Regions from separate parts of the Homo sapiens genome. Here region 2 is linked to region 1. Evidence: promoter capture Hi-C in human tissues and cell types (Jung and others, 2019). All regions are on one chromosome and are shown on one strand. The core of a region is centred on a gene start or on the middle of the fragment in contact, and the rest is flanking DNA. Distances in the headings are between cores, read along the strand shown.

Evidence for each region. The method cuts DNA at HindIII sites, captures the fragments that hold promoters and counts their contacts. A contact is called where the count stands out against the background at its distance.
Region 2: a fragment that was not itself captured here is called in contact with the fragment with the promoter of WLS in region 1 in 1 of the 25 tissues and cell types used here (hippocampus).

Annotation. Positions count from the first base shown.
Region 1 is chr1:68,230,056-68,236,125 of GRCh38, reverse strand. WLS (Wnt ligand secretion mediator) reads left to right here and starts at 3,603. Exons shown (of 12, transcript NM_024911.7): 1 at 3,603-3,932. The coding sequence starts at 3,827. The HindIII fragment of the contact is 13,703 bases long and covers 1-6,070 here.
Region 2 is chr1:67,822,988-67,829,007 of GRCh38, reverse strand. All of the region lies in intron 1 of GNG12 (G protein subunit gamma 12), which reads left to right. Among named protein-coding and RNA genes, the nearest start is that of GNG12-AS1, 6.3 kb to the left of the region's middle. The HindIII fragment of the contact is 7,209 bases long and covers 1-5,676 here.

The DNA.
Region 1 (6,070 bases), core at 2,354-4,853:
CAAGTAAAGTTAACCACCTAGACTTCTCCTAACATATGCTTCAAACAGTAATCACAATATGATAAAAATTTTAGAGCTGAGCAATAATCAGTCATCAGTTTTACTAGTTTTACTAGTTTTTAAACACAAAATTATTGATTTCCCTTAGTTTCCTAAATATAATAATAAATATTCATATCTTACAAGAATACCATGAAATAGTACTATTATTCCCATTTTACGGAAGGGAAAACTCTTCTGTAAAGAGTGAAGGTTTTACAGAAGCCTCAGAGTTGGTCTGTGAAGCCTCAGAGGTGGTAAGTAACTGCATAATGGCCTATAATCACATGAAACAAGGGGCAGATGGGATCTGGGTTCCAAACCAGATCCAGCTGACTCTAACTGTCATGTTCTTTTCTATTCACCTGTGTTGTCCGCTTGGGAAATAAAGATTCACAGTCACTTTTAATGTTTAAAAAGATGTGATAGAAATTCAATTTTTTTAAAGCAGCCCATGGTGATGAATACTACAGGTGTCTACATCCCACCAAGTTGGGCATTATTGGTAATCTCATGACAGAAGTACTGATTAGCAATTAGAAATATCCCTTTTTAATTAAAATAACTATTTAATAAGTGCTCTTTTAAAGCAGGGGATCATCTTGGTGGAGAACCAGCAACTCATTTACAGATGAGAAAACTGAAACCTAAGGAGTTAGGCTAGTTACTCTGCAGAGATGCATTTCAGAGCAGAGGGGGTGGGGTGTATTGTAGCAGCTCATTAAAAACTAAGTCAAGGAGTTCACTAATCTGAATAAATCACTTCTACCACTCCAGACATTTTTTATGGATCCAGTTTATATTTGAAGTGGACGGGGGCCAGGCGTGGTAGCTCACACCTGTAATCCCAGCACTTTGGGAGCAGAGGTGGGTGGATCACCTGAGGTCAGGAGTTCAAGACCAGCCTAGCCAACATGGCGAAACCCCATTTCTACTAAAAATACAAAAATTAGCTAGATGTGGTGGTGGGCACCTGTAATCCCAGCTACACAGGAGGCTGAGGCAGGAGAATTGCTTGAGCTCAGGAGGCAGAGGTTGCAGTGAGCCAAGATCGTGTCACTGCACTGCAGACTGGGCGACAGAATGAGACTCTGTCTCAAAAACAAACAAACAAATAAATAAACAAAAAACCCACCATTTTTTCTCTACCCTCTTATGCATAGTGCTTGGGGGTCTGTGGACTAAACTGACAAAAGACAGATTAGCAAGGCAAAAGACAAATTTTTGTTCACATATATCAAATGTATGTGGGCATTCATAACCACTCAAGGAGGCAGTTGTTAATAGAATTTGGAGCTTATATTCTATCTTAATAGGAGAAGAAGTGTATTTATGAGAAAACAAATGACTTTTAGGAAAGATAAATGGGCCCTTAGGAGTGCTGGGCTCAGAACATGATACCCCAAGGTATCTGAGTACTTTGAACTGAAGGACATTGGAAGGACAACAATTCTGTCTACTTCATCCTTTCTGATAGTACCTGGTGTTTGCCAAAGTAGAGGTAATTAATTACTATTCAGTGAATAACATTTGGACTGGGGGGGGGTTCCTCTGGGGCAGGTGCAAGTACTTTGACATCTTGGTATCCTTGAGTGCTTAAGAAAGAAAGCCTGGAACATGTTAAAGGCTCAATAAGTGACTTGGATAAAGAGTTGAATGAGAGAATAGATAAACAGCAACCACAGTCATGCATTGCTTAATGATGGGAATACCTTCTGAGAATGTGTTGTTAGGTGATTTGTCATTGTGCAAATGTCATAGAGGGCACTTACATAAACCTAGGTAGCATAGCCTACTACAGACCTAGGCTACACCGTGTAGCTGATTGCTCCTAGACTACAAACCTGTCTGGCATGTTACTGTACTGAACACTGTAGACAACTGTAATGCAATAGTAAGCACTCTGTGTATCTAAACATATCTATAGAAAAGGTGTTGTAAGAATATGGTATTATAACCTTATAGGACTACTGTCACACACACGGTCTGTTGTTGACTGAAACATCCTTATGTGACACATAATGATGTGTATATCCTCAGAACTGTTAAGAACTATTAGATGTTGAAGAGATGGAGTTTTGTATGCATAAAGTTTGGTGCTTGTCCTTGACAAGTCTCTGTTCTATTTGGAGATTAGAAATGAATGCTTCTATTAAGTGTAACCTGCATGACATCTTTTATAAGGGCAATGAAAATTCAGGAACAGAGTAGAGGAGGAGAGAGGACTGGGAAAAATAGTCTCTTGGCATGAAGAGGGTGTGTAAGGATGGGAGGGACAAGAAACAAGATGTGTGGGTGGTGGTGGTAGAAACTGCACGTTTGGGGAGCAGGGTGGGGTATTTACCAAACCAAGGGTCTATTGAGTAAGGTGAGTTGTACTGGCCAAGCGGCCAGTTTATGAAACATGGAAAAACCAGGCCCAGAAATTTAGGCTTGATAGAGCAGGAAATCTCTATCGGGAGCCCCGCCCCTCTTTTTATGGAAGTTAAGTATAAATATAAATATATGATTTCTCACAAAGAGACAACAAACATTGTAACTTAATATAGGTACCCTCTAAACCAACTAAGATCTCTTTAGACCTTTGAAATACAAACTGTGGGCTTGCTTTCACATTCACTTATTCATTCCACAAAAGATTATGGGGCACCTACTAGAGCTAGCATTTTGTTAGGCACCATGGGGGGTACAAAGAACAAAAAAAACTTGGTCCCTATTCCCCAGGAGTTTACAGCTCAGTGGTGGAGACAAACGTGTACACAAATCCTTACAATAGGAGGTAAAAATGTAAATACAGGATTGTAGGGGCTCAGTTCCCAGAGATACTGCATGGAGGTGGTGTGGAAAATTAGAAAGATTTTTTAACACTAGTTGGTTTTGGATCAGGTTTAACATTGATGGAGTAGAACATGTTCTCTTTAAGGCAATAACCAGGGTTAAGGCTGTGGAAGCACATGTGCTGGAGTAACGAACAGTGGTCTGATTTGGCTGGAGAGCAAGTTTCCTCAAGGGGCGCCGTGGGGAATTTAGCTGGGTATGTGCCCAATAACCGAGGCTGGGAATCTGGTAGAAAGAAGTCGAGCTGAGACTTTATTCCGCATCTCTGTGTTTTGACTTAGGCATCTATTGGGTCCTTTTAAAAAAAATTCTCCTCCTCTTTCCTAAAGAGAGTTCTAGCAGTTGGGGGTGGGGTGGGGACCATTTCCTAAAGTCAACGCGTAAGTTAAAGGTCTGCAAGGCGGTCCACCGGTGATTTAAATCTCGCACTTCGGAAACCAGAAAAGGAAACCTGTGAGAAGCTGGGCAGGGGGAACCCGCTTAACATCAACAGCAACCCCTAAATGGCATCAGACCTTGGAGAGACAGGTTGCAGGCCAGACTCGGGAGCCAGGCGCCAGCACCCGCCAGAGCTCTGAGCCCCGAACTGGTGGGCAAGGGGTAGAGGAAGAGAGGGAGGGAGGGAGGGAGGAAGCGCGAGAGGGAGGGAGGAAGAAAGGGAGGGAGGCGGCGTCATGTGATCCGCTTCCCTGCTCCTTTAAGCGTCCACAGGCGGCGGAGCGGCCACAATCACAGCTCCGGGCATTGGGGGAACCCGAGCCGGCTGCGCCGGGGGAATCCGTGCGGGCGCCTTCCGTCCCGGTCCCATCCTCGCCGCGCTCCAGCACCTCTGAAGTTTTGCAGCGCCCAGAAAGGAGGCGAGGAAGGAGGGAGTGTGTGAGAGGAGGGAGCAAAAAGCTCACCCTAAAACATTTATTTCAAGGAGAAAAGAAAAAGGGGGGGCGCAAAAATGGCTGGGGCAATTATAGAAAACATGAGCACCAAGAAGCTGTGCATTGTTGGTGGGATTCTGCTCGTGTTCCAAATCATCGCCTTTCTGGTGGGAGGCTTGATTGGTAAGTGCGGAGAGCTGCAAACTTTTCCCCCTTTCTGTCTTTTCGGGCCCCTTCCCTCTTTGCCTCTTGGGCTACTTGTTACAGTATCACTGCCTTGCTTCTATGATCTAATTAGTCCGGCTATTGTGCTTAAGAAAGCAGAGCTCCATGGGGCTCCGTGGGGCACAATCCAGTCTAGTGGCTAAGAGAAAAGGAGGGGAAAAAGTTTTGGCCTAGTTTCAGTATCCACTTGAAAGGCAAGAGGGGGGCGGCGGGGGTGGGAATCTTAAGCATGGCGACGGATCGCGCGAGGAAGCGCTGGGTTACAAAGTTGATTGCTCGCCCCCCCCCCCCCCCGCTTTTTCCCGCGTTCCCCCCCTTTTCCTCTCGGTTCCCTTCCAATCAGCTCCGGGAGGGCAACGTAATCGACTTTATTAGGAACAACAGAAGAGTCGGGGAACTGTGCCCGGCGCAAACCCGGAGCTCTGTTACAAGGCTGAGATACTTGCACGGTTGTAAATGCATTTGGTCGTCTTTGCTAGGGGCTGAGGGTTTGCAATTTGGGGTCCCGACCTTCGCGCCCTCTGCTTTCCCGCCGCACTCCACCCCACGCTCTGCCGTGGACAGGTCCGAATTGTCGGCCGGGAGGTTGGGTGGGATGGGGTGGGGTGGGAGGGAGTCCTTGACCAGCGCCGCGGGAAGTTGGAGAGGTCGGAGGGGAAAAGCGTATCCGAAAGGTGTTGCTTTTGGCCTCCTGCCCACTCGTGAATATCCCTTCCCCCACTACTTAGAGCCCCGAGAGCCGGTGACTGTGAATGTCCCCGTCCTCTTTTGGCGCTTAGGAGAGCGCCCTCAGCTCCCACCACAGCCCCCCGCAGGTGACAGCTCGCCGGCCTCCTCGGCGACAGCGCCCGCCCCGGGAGACCTCCCCTGGCGTGCACCTCCCGGACCTCTCTGAGTCAAACAGGCTTCCGGGTGAAGAAAACCGCCTCACGGACCGTCCACTCGGAAAAACTCCCTTCCCCTCACTGTCTCCCCATCTGCATCCATCCTCCCGCCTCTCTGCACACTCGCGCCCCCCGCCCCCTCAAGATTTGGGACATCCCGGCACAAACTTCAATGCCAACTTTGCAGCGGGCGCGGACGGGAGGTTCGGTTTCCTTACTTCACGGCTTTGTTAAACTTTGCGGAGTGGGGAGTCCACGGAGGGGCTTTCTCCGCGCGTGCCTTTACGGGCGCCCACGCGATGTGGGGTGCGGGGAAAACGCCCGGGGGCGCCGGCGGCGTCGCTGCCAGAGCTGCACAGGCTTGGGCACCTCCAGTCGTGTGCTTGGCGTTTTGTCTCCAGACTTGGGTTTGATGGGAACAAATTAAAGGGAGTTTGGTACTGTAAATCACGGTAACATCCAAGCCAATTGTCTTAAACAAAGGAGAGTGGGTGAAGCTTCATCAAGGAGAGAAATACCTAAAGGAGACAGTGCTCTTTTCTCTGTGTGCATTTATCCACAAAACAGAAAAGGGTTCAGAGTTTTCAAACAATCTCTTATCCCCAGTGTGGGCCAAACAGCTTCACATTTTCTTTCTGGAACCCTCACCCTCAACACACACACACACACACACACACACGCGCGCACACACACACACGGGTTGGCTTTTGTGTTAGGAGCTTCTGTTTGGCTACATGCAATCTCGTTTCCCCGTATTGGATTTTTCGAGGCTCTTAATACCTTCTCTGCTGGGAGCTGAAGGCAGCCTTCCCTGTGCCCTCACAGTGATTATGCAGCGGTTACAATTACACCTCTTGTCTCCCTTGATGAGCAGTTGCAGTTAGATGCCATTGGATCTTGTGTGATTTCAGTGGCAGACCATAATTAAAATTTCTTGCACCTTGTGCTTTCAGAATTAAATTGGCCTATTATCCCTGTCTGACCTTCATCCTCTTTGAGGTTTTTGCACAAGCAGCAAACCATTACACATAGTTTCCTGGTGTTTGTTGGTGTGTTTCTTTTTCTAGGCTGATCTCCTAGCTTTGCAGACAGAGCCCATTATCCAAGAAGTAGGCTTCCTAGGGCACTTCTGAAACTAGTAGGATTTCTGGGATGCTACCACCAAGGAGAAGCCCTAAGGGCACTCGTGAGTGGCTGGTGGACATTGGAGCG
Region 2 (6,020 bases), core at 823-3,322, 410 kb after region 1:
AAAAAATTTGCGTAATAGTTACTAAAAAACAAATCTGGCTTGTTAACTACAAATAGCAGGATTTTATTGTTGTTTTGGAAAAAGCACCAACTTTATGGCAGTTGAATGTCCTTCGGTTAAATGTCAAAACCTTTGCAGTGAGAATTGTTTAGCGGTAAAAGAGAAGGCCTTTCAGAAGCTTGTAGTTTGATCTTCATGAAGAATATTTGAAAAGTCTACCAGTGGGTTTTTAGGATCTGCATATAGACCTAGTCCACCAACCTTGACTTTATGGAAGTTGTGACTTCCCAGATCCAGGCCTGCCTTGATGAGCTGCGTTTTTACAGCACCTTCAGTATATCAGACACCTGGAAGACAGTAATGAGGCAGATATTGGTGCACTTAGTTTAACAGGAAGGTTGGATAGATAAAAACTAATTACAGCACAATTGTATATATTATATATCCTGAGCCCTTTCTAAACTCTTCCCGTATACAGTCTTGCTCAGTTGTCACAACAGCCCAGAGGAGGAAGCTGAGGTTCCTTAAAGGTCTGAACCTTGCTCAAGTTGCAAGGACAGAATTTGACCCAGAAGCATCTTAACTCCACATCTCATGCCCTCTGCACGGAGATGGAGGTGCATCCAGCCAGAGGTGAGAGTGAAGTGGGCTTTATGGAGTCAGTTTTGCTTAAAAACTATAAAACTAATCAAGAGAAACATGAGGAGGAGACTCCTTTTAGGTGACCTTCCTGAGGAGAATCATCAGTGCCTCTCCATCAGGCTTGCCACTCTTTAGCCATAGCAGTTAACACTTCCAAATGGCTGCTGAGACCCAGCAGGCCTGAAGCGCACACAAAGGCCCAGTCCTTGGTGACCCTGTGAAGCCTACCTCTTTCATCCCTGGACTTCCAAAGGGGGTCTGGATAGTACAGATGAAGGAACTGACTCGCTAAATCCTGTTCTAGAACCAGCACATACCCACAGATCCTGACCTCCCCACTTTCCTCCCTTAGGAATGACAGGAGAGTAGTTAACAGGTAGCATGGATCCAGGGCAGATGGTGGAGGTGACTTGACTTAAGATAACTTGTAGCTAGATTATTCCATTTATTGGAGAGTCTCTCTTGAAAATCATATCTGATGTCACTTAAGTGTTTGGTTTATCATGTTAGTCTTTATTGGGTGTCGTAAAAGTGCTCAGTTGTGAAGTGTCTGGTTACCATCCTGTGACAAGGAGGGTTTTTGTCTTCTTTTAATGGGTCTGCATTTCAGAGAATTACTGTATAATAAAAACTGGAGTGTTGGCTGGGTGCAGTCGCTCACGCCTGTAATCCCAGCACTTTGGGAGGCCGAGGCGGGTGGATCACAAGGTCAGGAGAGCGAGACCATCCTGGCTAACATGATGAAACCCCGTCTCTACTAAAAATACAAAAAATTAGCCGGGCGTGGTGGCGGTCGCCTGTAGTCCCAGCTACTTGGAAGGCTGAGGCAGGAAAATGGCGTGAACCTGGGAGGCAGAGCTTGCAGTGAGCCGAGATCGTGCCACTGTACTCAAGCCTGGGCAACAGAGCAAGATGCCATCTTAAAAAAATAAAAAAAAAAACTGGAGTGTTGGAGACTGTTAAGAATTAATACTTTCAGTTCTGCCAGAGGGTTAGTATCTAGAAGTTCTAAGAGATTGGTTGCTAAAATCTTCTGTAATTTTCAGTTTCATTGATTGTATAATAAGTGGGTGACTTTGGGCCCAGAGAGTCAGAAGGCTTTGTATTCTGTATGCTTTCTGACACAGTAGGCCACCACTCCCCTTGCAGGCAAGGTCATGTAATTGACATAGGATCCCCTTTAGTTGACCGAAGAGAGAAGTATAAGCTCTGGTTGAACTTGAGTTTGCGTGATCACACATGCTCACTGGAGTGAAGTCTGAATCAGTTGCCATCTCTGCACTTGCATTGTGTGTAGAGAATTGTCTTGATTCAGAATGGCTTTGTGCAAACTCACATGAGCCCATTGGAGGCAGAATCTTAACTTCATTGATGTGAAATAATCAGGCTTTTATTTAGCTTCAGATGGCACTAGCCAAGACGTCCTTGACCACTGGACACTAAACCCTTAACTCCCCACTGGGACCCTTTGACTCAGACCCCAAGCTTGCAGTTACCTCAAATTTTGTGTTGTTTTGGGGGGATAAATTATTGCAGAGGAAAAACATAAGGTTTTTTCTCAAATGAAGACTCAAACTGAAATCCATTAAATCCCAACATGAGCTAAATCTAAGGGTGGAAAGAGGAATCAAAATCTAAAAGCCTCTTGGACTTTATTGAGGCTTATTGAAGACCTTATTGAGATAACATCATCATACCAAGTTTAACCAGAATCTCAGGCAAATTAGAAAGGTGTAACCTTTAGACTAGGTGCCTGAGCTGTGCCTAGACTAATGAAATCTTCTGAATTATTAGACCATGGCCTGCACATTAGACCATGGGGCTTCATGTGGGTATATAAGGTCATGATTGGCTGTGCAGATAAGTTGTCATGGGAGGGTTGGATGTCTGGCCAAGAAGCAGAAGGAATGGATTGTGACTTCTTGACAGGGATACCTTGAACTGTTATACAGGTTGTTCACTGCACAAAAGTGCCTGGGCAAGGAGGCAAATGGGAGGCTCACATCTGCTAAACAAACAAAACCACATGCATCCTGGAGTAGGATTGCCTCTGCTAGGAGAAAAGGGAACTTCTTTCTGATGCTATCAAGCCTGCAAAAGTCTAGGTGTACATGGAAGGAATGCCTTTTTTTAACACACACAAAGGCACAATATGGCTACCAGCAGCTCTGCTTCTCAAAGCCCCTGTAGCCACAGTAGTCCTCTAGATGCCATCAGCTGGCAGAGTCTGTCACTTAACCATTTGGTTTATCATGTCAGGCTTTATTGGGAAACATATAAACTTCATGAATGTCAGTGGAATGAAGGAATAAAACCATGTTTTCTGTGGTATGTCAGCAAGGTACATGTAAAAAAGTAATACTGATTATATATGCTAGGAAACAAACATTCAGTGGTACACATTGCCTATGATGAGTTTCTTTCTCTTCAATTCATTATTTCTGAGGGGTAGGTAAAGACCAGCACTTTGGGTGCTGTTGACATTGTTTATTGCTACTTAAACACCAGCATGCTCAGTATTGCCTAATACTTGCCAGGGTCACCAGCACCCGTTGTGTAGTTGGCCTGGTGCAGGGAATGGAGTAGTAGTAACTCCTGGGAACGTGGAGAGGGATTCATGTTATTTATTGACCAGCCGTAGGCCTTTTTCCTTGGGGACAGGATGCAAGTAACAGTGGTTGCAGGAGCCTTTGGAACTTACCTATGAGTAGCTGCTGCTTCTGGAAAAAGGCTTCTAGTTTAGGTTAAAAGGTGCGGAGTCTTGTTATCAAAGGTACCACAAACTCAGAGAGTTTGTCTGTGTTCCCCTTAGTACCAACTGGTACTACTTTCTTGCTTTTTTAAGTTGATCCTTTAGAAAGCCTGTAGCCAGAATCAACTTCCTTCTCCTGGCTCCTCTTCTGGGAGGCATTTGCACAGCCTGTAGGATCAGCCATGTTTAGTGAATCTAACTGCTAAGGCAGTGGTCCTGAGGATCAAGGTGCTGGTTCATACTTCGGACCTAGGCCATCTGCTGTTTTCTGGAGACAATACACCTTGTGAAAAAAACTAAAAGATGCAGAAACGTGAATGCCTTTCACATTTAACCTGGTTAAATGCAGCTATCTTCAGACATACTCAGATTCCCAAAGCAGAAAGAGCAGAAGATGACAATTCCTAAGAATTTCTTACAGAATTTCTTTAAATAGCAAATTCACCTGTTGTGTTTATAGTATGATTTGATTACACAAAATTCCAGGAGTCTCAAGTTTTCAAGGAATATCTCTGTCAAATTCAGCAGAATATTCCAGCACATGCCTTGCCCTCTTTTTTAACATAAATATTTGATGAGCAGCATGCTTTATCCAAGAGCAAATCAATGCTCCTGGCAGGCTGCCTAGAAGGTAATCCTAGTGTTCCTATCTTTGCCTCCCATTCACCTACAGTTCTCTGACTTCCTATGGCTGTAATAAATATCCGGGGGCTCAGAGCCACCCACATCCAGCAGGTAATATAACACAGGGCAGAAATTACCCTCTCCACACTCACTGTGCTTACCTCCTGAATTCTGGACTGAGATTTCTCTGACTGACTTTCACATGAGAACCTACCTGCCTAAACCCAGGTTTCTTCGACTCCTCCTCCTGAGCTGTTGAACTCCACCTTAGCTTTATCTCTTCCATGCCAATCTTGTCCTGTTCTTCACACTTCTGGGAAAATTGCTTATACAACTTCAATATTTTTGAAAATATATAATATATGATCCTCAAGAAACATTATAACCATATACAAAGGTAAACATTTTTGACAATTTCTTACAAGAATTCCCTACAAGATTTCTTTTCTTTTCTTGCTTCCTTTTTTTTTTTTTTTTTTTGAGACAGGATCTCAGTCTGTCATCCTGGCTGGAGTGCAGTGGCACAATCATGGCTCACTGCAGCATCGACTTCCCTGGCTCAGGTGATCCTCCCACCTCAGCCTCCTGAATAGCTTGGACTATAGGTGCCTGCCACCACACCTGGCAAACTTTTGTGTTTTTTGTAGAAATGGGGTTTTACCATGTTGCCCAGGCTGGTCTCGAACTCCTAGACTCAAGCAATCTGCCAGCCTCAGCCTCCCAAAGTGCTAGGATTACAGGCCTGATCCACCGTGCCCAGCCCCAGGATTTCTTTAAATAGCAAATTCACAAAAATCAAAAGTTTTCAAATTCAAAAACCTTGCTCCCATCTTATCCCCATCCATGCCTTTCCCATATTCTCTGCAAGTAGCAACTTGTAAACACAAGCAAATAAGAATATATGGTATTTTAATTCTCCCCCCTTCTCTCATTAAAGGTGGTGTATATACTCTTCTTTACCTTACCTTTTAAAATTAGTGGTATGTTTTAGACATCTGTCTCTGCAAGTATCTCTTTCTCACACACACACAGAATAACAAGTTTTCCATCATGTGGATGTACCATGGTTTATTTGACCAATCTCTACTGCTGGACCTTTGGGCTGTTTCCCAGTCTTTTGCTATTACAAACAGTGCTGTGATGAATAAAGATGTAATAAATCATTTTGCTTTGTGAAGGTGTACTTAAGGATTGATTCCCAGAAGTGGGACTGCTGAATCACAGTGCTCTGTAGTACCCCTCCGGAAAGATTGAACCATTTTGCCCTCCCATCAGGAATGTATTGGATGTCCCGGTTCCGTACAGCCAATGGCCATAAAAGTGTCAGCTCTTCTTATTTTTGCTAAGCTGGTTTCTGCACAACGGTAATTTAGAGCCATTGAAATATTTTTGATTATGAGTGAGATGGCGGTTTGGGGCGGTTCTTACATCTTTTCTAGAATGTTGATCCTCCTGTGGGCATTTGTTGACCTTTCCTCTTGCATACATCTCTGTCAGAATCTCCTAAATACAGACTTACAAATGTGATGGCTCTTTTGGGCCTAAGGGTAGAGTGGGCTGCCAAATTGTCAGTGCAAAATCAAGAGAAGTGGAAAGTAGGGTTTTATGCCAGTTGCTAATGTCTGAATTAAAAATAGTTTTCAGCTAATGGTATTACTAAACTGGGGCTTCTCCAAAAAACATGATGAAGATGATCTTCTAGCCTAGAATTTCTCCCTCTCAAACAAAAACAAAAGAGAGAGATTGAGAATATATACATTTCAATAGCATTTCCTGCAAAACTTAAAAACTTCCTTTTAAGAAGCCTAGAATTTTCCACTTGCACTGTATCTCCTGAAGGAAGGTTATACATGCCGTATTTTGTTGTTGTTGTTTACTGTCTGAATTGGGCTCCTGTTCTCCCTTTAATTTCACCATCAGAGCTCTGTCTACTGTATTTCCAGGGTGAAAGAGAAGATGAAAGTAAAAGCACAATGTAAGAAGTCAAACCAGAGCTCAGGAC